Linked DNA regions of Homo sapiens: region 1 is linked to region 2. Evidence: promoter capture Hi-C in 16 types of primary human blood cells and fetal thymus (Javierre and others, 2016). All regions are on one chromosome and are shown on one strand. The core of a region is centred on a gene start or on the middle of the fragment in contact, and the rest is flanking DNA. Distances in the headings are between cores, read along the strand shown.

Region 1 (6,469 bases), core at 3,703-6,202, 170 kb after region 2:
ATAATCCCAGCTACTCCAGAGGCTGAGGCAGGAGAATCGCTTGAACCCGGGAGTCGGAGGTTGCAGTGAGCCGAGACTGCGCCACTGCACTCTAGCCTGGTGACAGAACAATACTCTGTTTTCAAAAAAAAAAGAAATGAAGCTAGGAAGGAGGAGACTCATTGTCAGTCCCACAAAGGCTGACTATCAGGGTACTGAAGGAAAATGGTTTAGAGAGAAAGCAAGGAGCAAGCATAAGGTGAGAGCTACATACTCTATTTCTGAAAGTCCAAATATCAAGAGAGGGTCTCTAACCCAGATGGCAACATGATTATCAGGTTTAAAAAAAAAGGGTCAGAGGCCGGGCGTGGTGGCTCACGCCTGTGATCCCAGCACTTTGGGAGGCCAAGGCGGGCGGATCACGACGTCAGGAGTTCAAGACCAGCCTGACCAATATGGTGAAACCCTGTTTCTACTAAAAATACAAAAATTAGCCGGGCATGTCGGGCGCGGTGGCTCACGTCTGTAATCCCAGCACTTTGGGAGGCCGAGGCGGGTGGATCAGGAGATCAGCAGTTCAGGACCAGCCTGGCCAACATGGTGAAACCCTGTCTCTACTAAAAACACAAAAAAAAATTAGCCAGGCGCAATGGCAGGCGCCTGTAATCCCAGCTACTCGGGAGGCTGAGGCAGGAGAATCGCTTCAATCTGGGAGGTGGAGGTTGCAGTGAGCCGAGATCGCGCCACTGCACTCCAGCCTGGGCGACAGAGTGAGATTCCATCTCAAAAAAAAAAAAATTAGCCGGCGTGGTGACGCACACCTGTAATCCCAGCTACTCAGGAGGCTGAGGCAGGAGAATTGCTTGAACCCGGGAGGTGGAGGTTGCAGTGAGCCGAGATCGTGCCATTGTTCTCCAGCCTGGGTGACAAGAGTGAGACTTCGTCTCAAAAAAAAGAAAAAAAAAAGGTAGGGCTACCTGGGCCTGTAGGAGTCAGGAGCAATAAAGTCCTCTTGACAAATAAATATAAGCACATTTAAGCCCTTCTCTTTCTGCAAAAGGGTTAAAAAGGGAAAAAGAAAAAATGTTCAAAAGGCTTATGTGAAATTCAGGCAGAATAAACTCACCAGAATGAAGAGCTCACTGTTTGTGATGTTGAGAAAGATGCAGTTGGCTCCCAGGGCTTTCTTGAACTCTTTATGGACGTTTTCATTGGAGCAGCTGCAGAGGAAAAAAGTACTCAGCGGGCAGAATGCAGAGAGTACAGTGAAGAGTTCGGGGGAGGCTGGACATGGTGGTTTGCACCTGTAATCCTAGCACTTTGGGAGGCTAGGGCAGGATGATCACTTGAAGTCAGGAGTTCAAGACTAGCATGGGCAACATAGTGAGACCCTGTCTCTATTAAAAAAAAAAAAAAAAATTCAGAGAAGCAGGGCTGAGTAAATAAGAAAAGAAAAGGGACTGGGCCGGGTGCGGTGGCTCACGCCTGTAATCCCAGCACTTTGGGAGGCTGAGGCAGGCGGATCACTTGAGGTCAGGAGTTTGAGACCAGCCTGACCAACATGGAGAAACCCTGTCTCTACTAAAAATACAAAATTAGCCGGGTGTGGTGGTGCATGCCTGTAATCCCAGCTACTCGGGAGGCTGAGGCAGGAGAATCGCCTGAACCTAGGAGGTGGAGGTTGCGGTGAGCCGAGATTGTGCCACTGCACTCCAGCCTGGGCAACAAGAGCAAAACTCTGTCTCCAAAAAAAAAAAAAAAAGAAAGAAAGGAAAAGAAAAGAAGAGGGACCACAGTTAAAGAACAAGGATGGGAAAATAAAGAAACTAAGTGTCTTCTTAGCAAGAAGGGCTCTAGTAGAGGGCCAGGGGAACAACAGAGAAAACTGCAAAGTGGGAGTGATGCCTGGGAGAAATAAAGCCAGAGATTAGGGCTGTAAAGAGGGCCCTCATTCCCACCATCCTTAACACTCACGCTTCTCTCAGATCCTCGGGCACAGCCATGGTAACCTTGAAGAAGCTGCCTTTGGTTGCAAGGGGATTGGGATTAACTGGCCGAAGTCGCTCCAGGGTAACAATTTCATTGTAGGTGGCATCACAGGCAGCATATTCAATGACATAGAACTGGCACATGGTAAAAAAGGAGAAGTTGTGGATGACCTGAGCAACTTTCTATGAATAACATATTTGTTTCAGTAGTTCTCCAAAGGCATTCCCAGTCACTCACATCTCCCTTCATCATCCGCACCCGGGCCAGCCACCAGCCACAAGGTTCCTGTTCATTGGCTCGAGAATAAACCTAAAGAAAAGTAGAGAATCAAAGAGATATTGAAGACCACCCAAAAGCATCAAGAAAGGGATGAGGAGGCCGGGCATGGTGGGGCTCACACCTGTAATCTCAGCGCTTTGGGAGGCTGAGGCAAAAGGACTGCTTATGCCCAGGAGTTCAAGACCAGCTTGGGCAACATAAACAATAGAACAACCATTAAGATATTTGGGGCTGCTGGGCACAGTGGCTCAAGCTTATAATCCCAGCACTTTGGAAGGCCAAGGTGGGAGGATCTCTTGAGCTCAGGAGTTCAAGAACGATCTGGGCAACACAGTGAGACCCCACTTCCACGAAAAAAAAAGAGGCCAAGCGCGGTGGCTTATGCCCATAATCCCAGGACTTTGGCTGAGGTGGGCTGATCACCTGAAGTCAGGAGTTCAAGACCAGCCTGGCCAACATGGTAAAACCCCACCTCTACTAAAAATACAAAAATTAGCCGGGTGTGGTGCCACATGCCTGTACTCCAAGCTACACAGGAGGCTGAGGCAGGAGAATCACTTGAACCAGGAGGTGGAGGTTGCAGTGAGCTGAGACCGCGCCACTGCACTCCAGCTTGGGCAACAGAGTGAGACTTCATCTCAAAAAGAAAAAAAAGGTATTTGGGATGCATCTTTTTTTTTTTTTTTTTGAGACAGAGTTTCGCTCTTGGTGCTCAGGCTGGAGTGCAATGGCACAATCTCAGCTCACTGCAACCTCCACTTCCTGGGTTCAAGCGATTCTCCTGCCTCAGCCTCCCAAGTAGCTGGGATTATAGGCGCCCGCCACCACGCCCAGCTAATTTTTTGTATTTTTAGTAGAGATGGGGTTTCATCATGTTGGCCAGGCTGGTCTTGAACTCCTGACCTCAGGTGATCTGCCCCACTCGACCTCTCAAAGTGCTGGGATTTCAGGTGTGAGCCACTGCATCCAGCCTGGGATGTATCTTAAACCAAGGATACAAGAAACCAGAGGAAGGAACTAATTAAAATCAGAGGACGGCAGGGCATGGTGGCTCATGCCTGTAATCCCAGCACTTTGGGAAGCTGAGGCGGGTGGATCACCTGAAGTCAGAAATTCAAGACTAGCCTGGCCAACATGGTGAAACCATGTCTTTACAAAAATGCAAAAATTACCCGAGCATGATGGCAGGTGCTTGTAATCCCAGCTACTTGGGAGGCTGAGGTGGAAGAATTGCTTGAACCCAAGAGGCGGAGGTTGCAGTTAGCTGAGATCGCGCCACTGCACTCCAGCCTGGGCAACAGAGCAAGACTCCATCTCAAAACAACAACAACAACAACAACAAAAAAATCAGAGGGCACTGGATTTTAGATGTTGTTACCATAAATGGAAGGCAAATCGCCTGAAACTGGGGATGTTCCTGAGAGTTTGGCTGATCACAACAGTGATAAAAGGGGAACTGTTGCATTTTACATTTCCATAGGCTACATGGCTGGATATGGCTTAGTTGGGGAGGAAGGAACATGAACCAACCAGAGAAAAGCCTAGAATCCTGGGGAAAAGTGACATTTAGAAAGGTGTACTCCACAGCCCTTACCTCCACTTCATCCCCTTCTGTGATCTCCTTATTATAGTCAGCTGGAGGTGGTAGCCGGACATCCCCAAAAGGAATTTGTCTCTCACTCTGCCAGCTATAATAGAAACAATAATATGAAAAAGCTACTCTGACTGATATGGTTGCCCATTTCTTTACAAAAGGGTTATTGCCTCAGCTGGGCGAGTTCCACCTATCTGGATAATTAGAGGCTAAACCCCAGGCCCTGCTCCATAGTAGTGTCTTCCATCTCTTTCTAGACTCTAAATACTGGGTCAAATGCCCCCACCCTCACCAAATTCTCAGCCCTTTCCTCTCCTGGGATCCATATGAGTTCCCACCCAAACCCTCAGCTCTCCCAACCTATTACATGCCTCATAGGACTCAGCTGCCCCCTCTTCTCCACTCTCCTTCTAGGACCTAGTATGCTGGATTCTCTATTCCCAAGGTCTTACTTGTTTTCAAAGAAGATGGTGACAGAGTCTTCATGGACATCCTTCACAAAGCCCTAGAATGGATTTTAGAAAAAAGCAAAAAAAATAAAATGACCTTTTACTTCCACCTTAGCCATCAAGGGAATAAGACACCACAAAACCTTAAACTTGAGTTTTAGATAGGGACACAAGTGGTGTAATGAGACAGCCTGAAAGGCTGCACTGGGGAAAGAATATGGGCAGTCAAACAGAGAAAGGAAATGATATTGTCATGGAGAGGTGTATGTACCACCTGCATCAGAACAGCCTGGAAACCAATGATCTACTCAGGCTCCCACAGGGGCCTCCCTATCTGTCTGCCTCCTGTTGTGCTAAGCAGCCTGCCAGAGTTCAATTAAAATACCAACAACATTCAGCAAGGCTAAGAATATCCCATGAGACAGTGTGAGGCTGTCCTGGAACACCTAGAGGACATGAGGATCTGTCGAGAGAGAAGGGCCTACCTCCGCAATACAGCAAGAGATCTGAGCAGACTCGCTGCCCTGATGCATGGGTCCTAAGACAATAATCGGAACACTAGACAAGTTCAAAATTGTGATGAACACAATTTACAGAAGGAAAAATTAAGACTTAATTTAAAAACATCGGTTTTTTAATACTAGAATTGAATCTAGAATGACACTGATAATTTATAAAGGATAATAAAATTTATGGAAGACTCCAATCTTGATATTTTGACAAGAGCAAGAGGGATGACTGAACAGCTGATCCACCTCCTGTGGTCTGTGTCCTCACTAAGGAGGCCAAAGCCATGCATTCACCCCTATGCTCCCAATTTTTCTACCTTCTCCCTATTTTTCACATACAATTAGGGATTTCTAATTTTGAAAAAGGTCTAGCTTATGAATTTATTATTTTATCAACTGTGCTTTTGGTTTCATATCTAAGAAATCTTTGCCCAGGCCAGGCACAGTGGCTCACGCCTATAATCCCAGCACTTTGGGAGGACGAGGCAGGCAGATCACCTGAGGTCAGGAGTTCGAGACCAGCCTGCCAACATGGTGAAACCCCGTCTCTACTAAAAATACAAAAATTAGCCAGGTGTGGTGGTGCATGTCTGTAATCCCAGCTATTTGGGAGGCTGAGGAAAGAGAATCACTTGAACCTGAGAGTCAGAGGTTGCAGTGAGCCAAGATCATGCCATTGCACTCCAGCCTGGGCAACAAGAGCAAAACTCCATCTCAAAAAAAAAAAAAAGAAAAAGAAAAAGAAATCTTTGCCTAATCCAAGGCCACAAAGGTTTTCTCTTATGTCTTCTTCTTAAACTTTTAGTTTTTTGTTTTACATTTACATCTATAATCCTTTATTTTTAGACAGAGTCTCACTCTGTCACCCAGGCTGGAGTGTAATGGCGCAATCTTGGCCCACTGCAACCTCCACCCCCCGGGTTCAAGCAATTCTCCTGCCTCAGCCTCACGAGTAGCTGAGATTACAGGCAACCGCCACCACACCAGGCTAATTTTTTATATTTTTAGTAGAGACGGGGTTTCACCATCTTGGCCAGGTTGGTCTCGAACTCCTGACCTCAGGTGATCCATCTGCCTCAGCCTCCCAAAGCTGGAATTAAAGATGTGAGCCACTGTGCCCAGCCTATGATCCATTTTGAATTAAATTTTATATATAAGGTGAGGTATTGATCAATGTTTTTTAAATTTTTAAATTCTTATTTATTTTTTTGAGACAGAGTTTCGCTCTTGTTGCCCACGCTGGAGTGCAATGGTGCAACCTTGGCTCACCGCAACCTCCGCCTCCCAGGTTCAAGCAATTCTGCCTCAGCCTCCCAAGTAGCTGGGATTACAGGCATGGGCCACGACCCTGGCTAATTCTGTATTTTTAAGAGAGACAGGGTTTCTCCATGTTCGTCAGACTGGTCTCAAACTCCCGACCTCTGGTGATCCACCCGCCTCAGCCTCCCAAAGTGCTGGGATTACAGGTATGAACCATCGCACCAGGCCACTTTTTTTTATTTTTAATATATTTTTAAATTAAAATTTTTTTTTAATAGAGACAGGGTTTCGCTATGTTGCCCAGGCTGGTCTTGAACTCCTGGACTCAAGCAATGCACCCGCCTTAGCCTCCAAGAATGTTGGAATTACAGGTGTGACCACTGTGCCCAGCCCATTTTTTACCTAAAGAT
Region 2 (6,364 bases), core at 660-3,159:
ACATGCGTGCACCACCACGCCCAGCTAATTTTTGTCTTTTTAGTAGAGATGGGGTTTCACCATGTTGGCCAGGCTAGTCTCGAACTCCTGACCTCAAGTGATCCACCCGCCTCGGCCTCCCAAAGTGTTGGGATTACAGGCGTGAGCCAGGGCGCCTGGCCACATTATCTACATTTCAAGTGCTCAACAGCCACAGGTGGCTGCTGGTGGCTACTGTATCAGACAGGACCAACTCAGGACATTGCTATCGTCACAGAAAATTATATTGGAGAGCCATGCTTTAGAGTTTAGAGGAACTATTCCTTGTCACCCATTCTTAACATCTTCAAAGCTTCCACAGAGTCCAGAGAACTTAGTTCTTTTTAGAGTGCCTCGGAAGCCACCCTCTGGGAAGGAGGTGAGATGCAGGGATGTCTGATGCCTGGTTACTCCAGACTGTGAGAAACAGCCCAGTCTCCAGTTCTCCTGATCTGGCCTCTTGGGTCACAGCCAGATGTGTGTGTACGGGAACCTACTTGCGCAGTTCTGGGCTGCTTTGGTGCTCTCGCTTCTCCCAGGGACCCCAGCTCTGGTTGCTGAAGGAGAAAACTCTCTGTCAGTGACGAGGAACCCCTGAGTCCTGGGCTTGCCAAATTGATCTCTACAGTTGGGGAGTCTCTTCTTTTACAGGCCTCTAATTTTCCTAGATGTCCTCCTTAATTATCTTATCCATGGACTTAGGCCTATCCCGTCCTGGAGACAGACCAAGGGCAGAAGGAATGTAAGAAGTCGTGGCCCAGGCCGGGTGCAGTGGCGCGTGCCTATAATCCCAACACTTTGGGAGGCCGAGGTGGGAGGATCACCTGAGGTCAGGAGTTCAAGACCAGCCTGGCCAACATGGTGAAACCCTGTCTCTACTAAAAATACAAAAAATTAGCCAGGTATGGTGGCAGGCGCCGTAATCCCAGCTTCTCGGGAGGCTGAGGCAGGAGAACTGCTTGAACCCGGGAGGTGGAGGTTGCAGTGAGCGGAGATTGCGCCACAGCACTCCAGTCTGGGCAACAGTGCGAGACTCAGTCTCAAAAACAAAACAAAACAAAACAAAAATTTGAGATCCCAAAGTGTTTTCCCTGCCACGACTCAGGTAGCAGTGAGCTGAGGTGGGCATCACTAACATGTATGTCTCTCCTATGAGTCAAACGTCCATTTCTGGGTCACCATCTGTGTGCTCCTGCCTAACACTACCACTTTTGGGATTCCAAGATGCACCCCCCCCACCCCACCCAGGCAGGGGTCCCTATCTCTCCCCAGGCCCTAGGGTGGAGTTTCGCTCTTATCACCCAGGCTGGAGTGCAATGGCACAATCTCAGCTCACTGCACCCTTTCCCTCCTAGGTTCAAGTGATTCTCCTGCCTCAGCCTCCTAAGTAGCTGGGATTACAGGCGTCTGCCACCACGCCCGGCTAATTTTTGTATTTTTAGTAGAGACAGGGTTTCGCAATGTTGGCCAGGCTGGCCTTGAACTCCTGACCTCAGGTGATTCACCCGCCTCAGTCTCCCAAAGTGCTGGGGTTACAGGCGGGAGCCACCGCGCCCGGCCCATCCCTCATTATTTTTTGCGACTCAGAGCCATCCTATTACCCCTCTCAAACCCCAAGGAATGTTTGAGTGGGGTTGATATGGGTGTGAAAAGACACAGAATAATCTGTCTCCAGAGGAACTACAACTTCCATCAGGCACTACTTCAGCGGAACAGGAAAGGATGTGGGGGCGTGGCTACCACGCCCTAGTAGAGCGGGAAACTACAACTCCCAGGATAACGCGGGATTTCAGCAGGGCCAAAAGAGTGATTGAGCTCTGACTGGCGACCCGACCCGGCGGAAACCACCTCGACAGCCTCCAGAAAGGGGCGTGGCTGAAAATGTAGGGGCGTGGCCACGTGGGCATCAGGAAGAAGTAACCTGTTGAATCTATTTCTGCTCCCCACCCTTACTGCTTCCCATAAGGGGGAAGCCGCAGACTAATAAGCCTCTTCCAAAAAAGAGGTAAAGGGAGGTAGACAAGGGGCGGCAGCGGAGGCTGGCTACTGCATTCCGTAGGAGGAGCCAACAGTTACTTTTTACCTGCTGAGTCCGGTGAACCAGTTCATGGGGGCGGGGACCTGCCTATGAGAAAAGGGCCAGGATAGAAGAGGTATTTATTTGTTCATTTTGAGGACTAAATTTAGAACCCATCATCTACAGACCCATTTGTAGGTTGTGTCTGGGGCACTCGCTCGGCCTCAGGAAGAGGGAAGAACGGGGACGACTTTGTGGCAGCAAAGCCACCTCCCTTCCGTGTTTTCCGCAGCCCAAAGCGATAGAACCGCATGGCTTCCGCAGTCTGGGGGAGTGCCCCCTGGTGGGGCCCGCCGCCCCCGGCCCCAGCTCGGCCGCTCACGGACATCGACTTCTGCTCCGGGGCGCAGCTGCAGGAATTGACCCAGCTGATCCAGGAGCTGGGTGTGCAGGAGAGCTGGAGTGACGGGCCCAAGCCGGGAGCCGATCTCCTCCGGGCCAAGGACTTTGTCTTCTCTTTGCTTGGTAAGTAACCCTACTTGCCTTTGGGAACTCACAGCTCTCAGCCTCACCACGCCCCCGCCCCCGCCCCGGCTTTGGGCGACGCCCTCACGATCCGTTCCCTTTTTTTAGGTCTAGTTCACCGCCGGGACCCTCGCTTTCCTCCCCAGGCAGAGCTCTTGCTGCTTCGTGGTGGGATTCGCGAGGGCTCCCTGGATCTGGGGCATGCACCCCTGGGTCCCTACGCCCGGGGACCTCACTACGATGCCGGCTTCACACTCCTAGTGCCCATGTTTTCACTGGACGGCACTGAACTGCAACTGGACCTGGAATCCTGTTACGCACAGGTCTGCCTCCCAGAGATGGTGTGCGGAACCCCCATCCGGGAGATGTGGCAGGATTGCTTAGGACCCCCAGTCCCAGGAGCACGTGATTCGATCCACCGAACGGAGAGCGAAGAAAGTTCCAAGGACTGGCAAAGCTCTGTAGACCAGCCGCACAGCTACGTCACTGAGCACGAGGCGCCGGTGTCTTTGGAAAAATCGCCTAGTGACGTTTCAGCGTCCGAGTCGCCTCAGCATGACGTCGTCGACCTTGGCTCTACCGCACCTTTGAAAACAATGAGTAGTGACGTCACCAAGGCAGCCGTCGAAAGCCCAGTCCCAAAGCCGTCGGAGGCTCGGGAAGCGTGGCCCACATTATGTTCCGCCCAGGTGGCTGCCTGGTTCTTTGCTACGCTGGCGGCGGTCGCCGAGTCTCTGATCCCTGTCCCGGGTGCTCCGCGTCTGGTGCACGCAGCTCGCCACGCGGGTTTCACCACCGTCCTCCTGGCTACCCCTGAGCCCCCTCGCCGCCTCCTGCTCTTCGACCTGATCCCAGTGGTGTCCGTGGCGGGCTGGCCCGAGGGGGCTCGGAGCCACTCGTGGGCCGGTCCGCTGGCCTCTGAGTCGGCTTCCTTCTACCTGGTGCCCGGTGGCGGCACCGAGCGGCCGTGCGCCTCCGCCTGGCAGCTCTGTTTTGCCCGCCAGGAGCTGGCGCTCAAAGCGCGCATACCAGCGCCGCTGCTGCAGGCGCACGCGGCGGCCCAGGCGCTACTGCGCCCGCTGGTGGCCGGGACCCGGGCGGCGGCGCCCTACCTCCTGCGGACGCTGCTGTACTGGGCGTGCGAGCGGCTGCCTGCGCTCTACCTGGCGCGGCCAGAAAATGCGGGCGCCTGCTGCCTCGGGCTGCTAGACGAGCTCGGCCGAGTGCTCGAGGCCGGGACGTTGCCTCACTATTTTCTGAACGGCCGACAGCTCCGTACGGGGGACGACTCCGCTGCGCTGCTCGGAGAATTGGCCCGGCTCCGCGGGGACCCGGCCCGGGCCCTCCGTGCCGCGGTGGAGGAGGCCAAAGTGGCCCGCAAGGGGGGCGGTTTGGCGGGCGTGGGGGGCGGGGCCCATTAAAGACGCTGTTCCTACCAGTGGAAAGTGCCTCTGTGGGCGAGCGGGACGTGGGGGGCCCTGCTCGCCCCTCGCCAGGGGGACTGACTGTGTGCCCTGGGCCTGAAGCCCCCCTTCTGGAAGACCTCCCTGTTGGTTCCTCCTCTACGCCCACCCGCCTGCCCCCGCACAAGTTGCCCCATTCCAGCCTCGCTATTCTCCACATCTGTGGCCAGCACTCCGCCCAGGGGCAGCTTCCAGAAACCGTCTGTCCCCAGTTCTTTTGGTCATTTCTCTTAAGGGCCAATAGAAATGGGAGAAACATATTTGCTGACCAAACGCGAAAAGGAGTTATGGAGACCAGGGTCTGATCAATTTGGCTCACACAACGGCAGAGATATGAAGGAGGCCGGATTTCGCCCAAGGCTGGATCTCACCACCCCCCATCCTCCATCTCTCCAGTTCTTCCCCCACTTTACTCGTGCGGTTCTTTCTTCACTAACATCCCGGCCAGTAGGGTCTCTCTCCCTTCTCCCAGCGTCCGCCATTCCATCTCCCTTAGGCCCAACCTCTCCTTCCTACCCAGGGGTGCGTTCAGGAGGCCTTCCTGTCCCTCCTCCTCTGAAGGCTGAGACGTGCGGCCTTGCCTCGGCTTTGCCTGCTTGTAAGACACAGTCCGCACTCTCTACCTCCAAGGAACCCCGGGGTTCCTCCTGCCCGGCTTCACCCTCCTATTTCCCAGCGTCTCCGCCCCCTGCCCCGCCCCCGGGCCGGCTCTCCGAGGAGGGGGAACTGCTGTCGCCGCCGCCGCCGCCGCCTCAGCTTCCCACAGCCGCTGCCGCTGCCGCCGCTCTGCCTGGTCCAGCCACCGGCCCAGTGCTCTGACTTCGCCGGACCGGGGAGCTCTGCAGAGACACCCTCACTCCTTCCCGAGGGTCCGGGACGCCTAGCCGGGCGTGGGGGGAAGCTCCGTTTGCGGGGGACAGGGAGGGAGGAGCCTGGAGCCGAAGCCAGCGCCACCCGTCGCCGGATCAACAGGACAGGACAGGTTGAGGGGCGTCGGGAAAAGGAAGAGGGGGTGCTATAGGCAATCCCGGGGAGGACGAGGAAGCCCTGTAGCAGGAAGCTGTGATCCGCTCTGACTTGTAGGGGGCCTGTTCACATCTGGGGACTGGTGACAACGTGGGTGCACTCCTCTCTTGGGGGGCTGGTTAGATTGGAGGGCGTGGGATCTAAACAGCACCAGCTGTCCCCAAGAAAATTTAAGGGGCAGCCAGGGGAGAAAAAAACAAAAACAAAAACAAACACGGATGCTCCTCATTTTGAGGTGGCGGAAGGCCCTCCAGTCAACTACCTGGTGTATCCACTAGGAAGGGTGGATTTGGAGGTGACTTCAAAAGGAGCGGAGGGTGTGAAGGTGAAGAAAGGGTCTTGGCCGCTAGAATTCTATGCTACTAGACATGGGGGGGACTTGGTGAAAAAGGTATTATCCAGCCAGAGGGTCTGGGAGCCCTGTCTTACTGAACCTGGGCAACCTGGATATTCTGAGACATATTTTGGGGGGATTTCAGTGAAAAAAGTGGGGGATCCCCTCCATTTAGAGTGTAGCAAAGGAAAAAACACCAAGGTTGGGTTCCTTCCTGACATTGGCAGTGCCCCAGTAGGGGTGGGATGAGCGAATATTCCCAAAGCTAAAGTCCCACACCCTGTAGATTACAAGAGTGGATTTGGCAGGAGTGTGCCCCAAAATACAGTGGAAAGGTGCCTGAAGATATTTAAACCACGTCTTGGAAATTTAGTGGGTCTTGGCTTTGGGATAGGTGAAGTGAGGACAGACACTGGAGAGGAGGGAAAGGGGACGTTTTCAATAGGAGGCAAAACTCGAGGGTGGGATCCACTGAGGAGTACATAGGCTGCTGGATCTGGTGGAGCCAGCACTGGGCCCACGGGTGGTAACTGGCTGCTGTGGAGGGGGGTACGTGAGGGGGGGGGTCTGGGGCTTATCCTCAGGTCCTGTGGGTGGGGCAGCGAGTCGGGGCCTGAGCGTCAAGAGCATGCCCTAGTGAGCGGGCTCCTCTGGGGGAGCCCAGCGCGCTCCGGGCGCCTGCCGGTTTGGGGGTGTCTCCTCCCGGGGCGCTATGGCGGCGCTGGCCAGTAGCCTGATCCGGCAGAAGCGGGAGGTCCGCGAGCCCGGGGGCAGCCGGCCGGTGTCGGCGCAGCGGCGCGTGTGTCCCCGCGGCACCAAGTCCCTTTGCCAGAAGCAGCTCCTCATCCTGCTGTCCAAGGTGCGACTGTGCGGGGGGCGGCCCGCGCGGCCGGACCGCGGCCCGGGTGAGTGCGGCTGGGGCGGGGTCTCCCGGCCAGAGGTTTCTCTGCCTGGGAGATTGAGGCCAGGGACTCTGAAGAA

What was found. The method cuts DNA at HindIII sites, captures the fragments that hold promoters and counts their contacts. A CHiCAGO score of 5 or more calls a contact.
Region 1: a fragment that was not itself captured here is called in contact with the fragment with the promoter of TMEM102 in region 2 in 7 of 17 cell types (total B cells, total CD8 T cells, naive CD4 T cells and 4 more); the score reaches 7.7 in total B cells.

What each region holds. Positions count from the first base shown.
Region 1 is chr17:7,601,804-7,608,272 of GRCh38, forward strand. It overlaps FXR2 (FMR1 autosomal homolog 2), which reads right to left. Exons shown (of 17, transcript NM_004860.4): 2 at 4,294-4,346; 3 at 3,842-3,935; 4 at 2,206-2,277; 5 at 1,954-2,102; 6 at 1,106-1,199. Among named protein-coding and RNA genes, the nearest start is that of FXR2, 9.9 kb to the right of the region's middle. The HindIII fragment of the contact is 4,908 bases long and covers 2,499-6,469 here.
Region 2 is chr17:7,433,526-7,439,889 of GRCh38, forward strand. TMEM102 (transmembrane protein 102) reads left to right here and starts at 1,910. Exons shown (of 3, transcript NM_178518.3): 1 at 1,910-2,171; 2 at 2,328-2,560; 3 at 2,669-4,154. The coding sequence starts at 2,347. The coding sequence ends at 3,981. FGF11 (fibroblast growth factor 11) reads left to right here and starts at 5,987. Exons shown (of 5, transcript NM_004112.4): 1 at 5,987-6,288. The coding sequence starts at 6,096. RefSeq lists enhancers at 1,594-1,763, 2,815-3,724, 4,521-4,620, 4,635-5,543, 5,797-6,330 and silencers at 3,460-3,739, 4,711-4,810, 6,089-6,188. The HindIII fragment of the contact is 10,292 bases long and covers 330-6,364 here.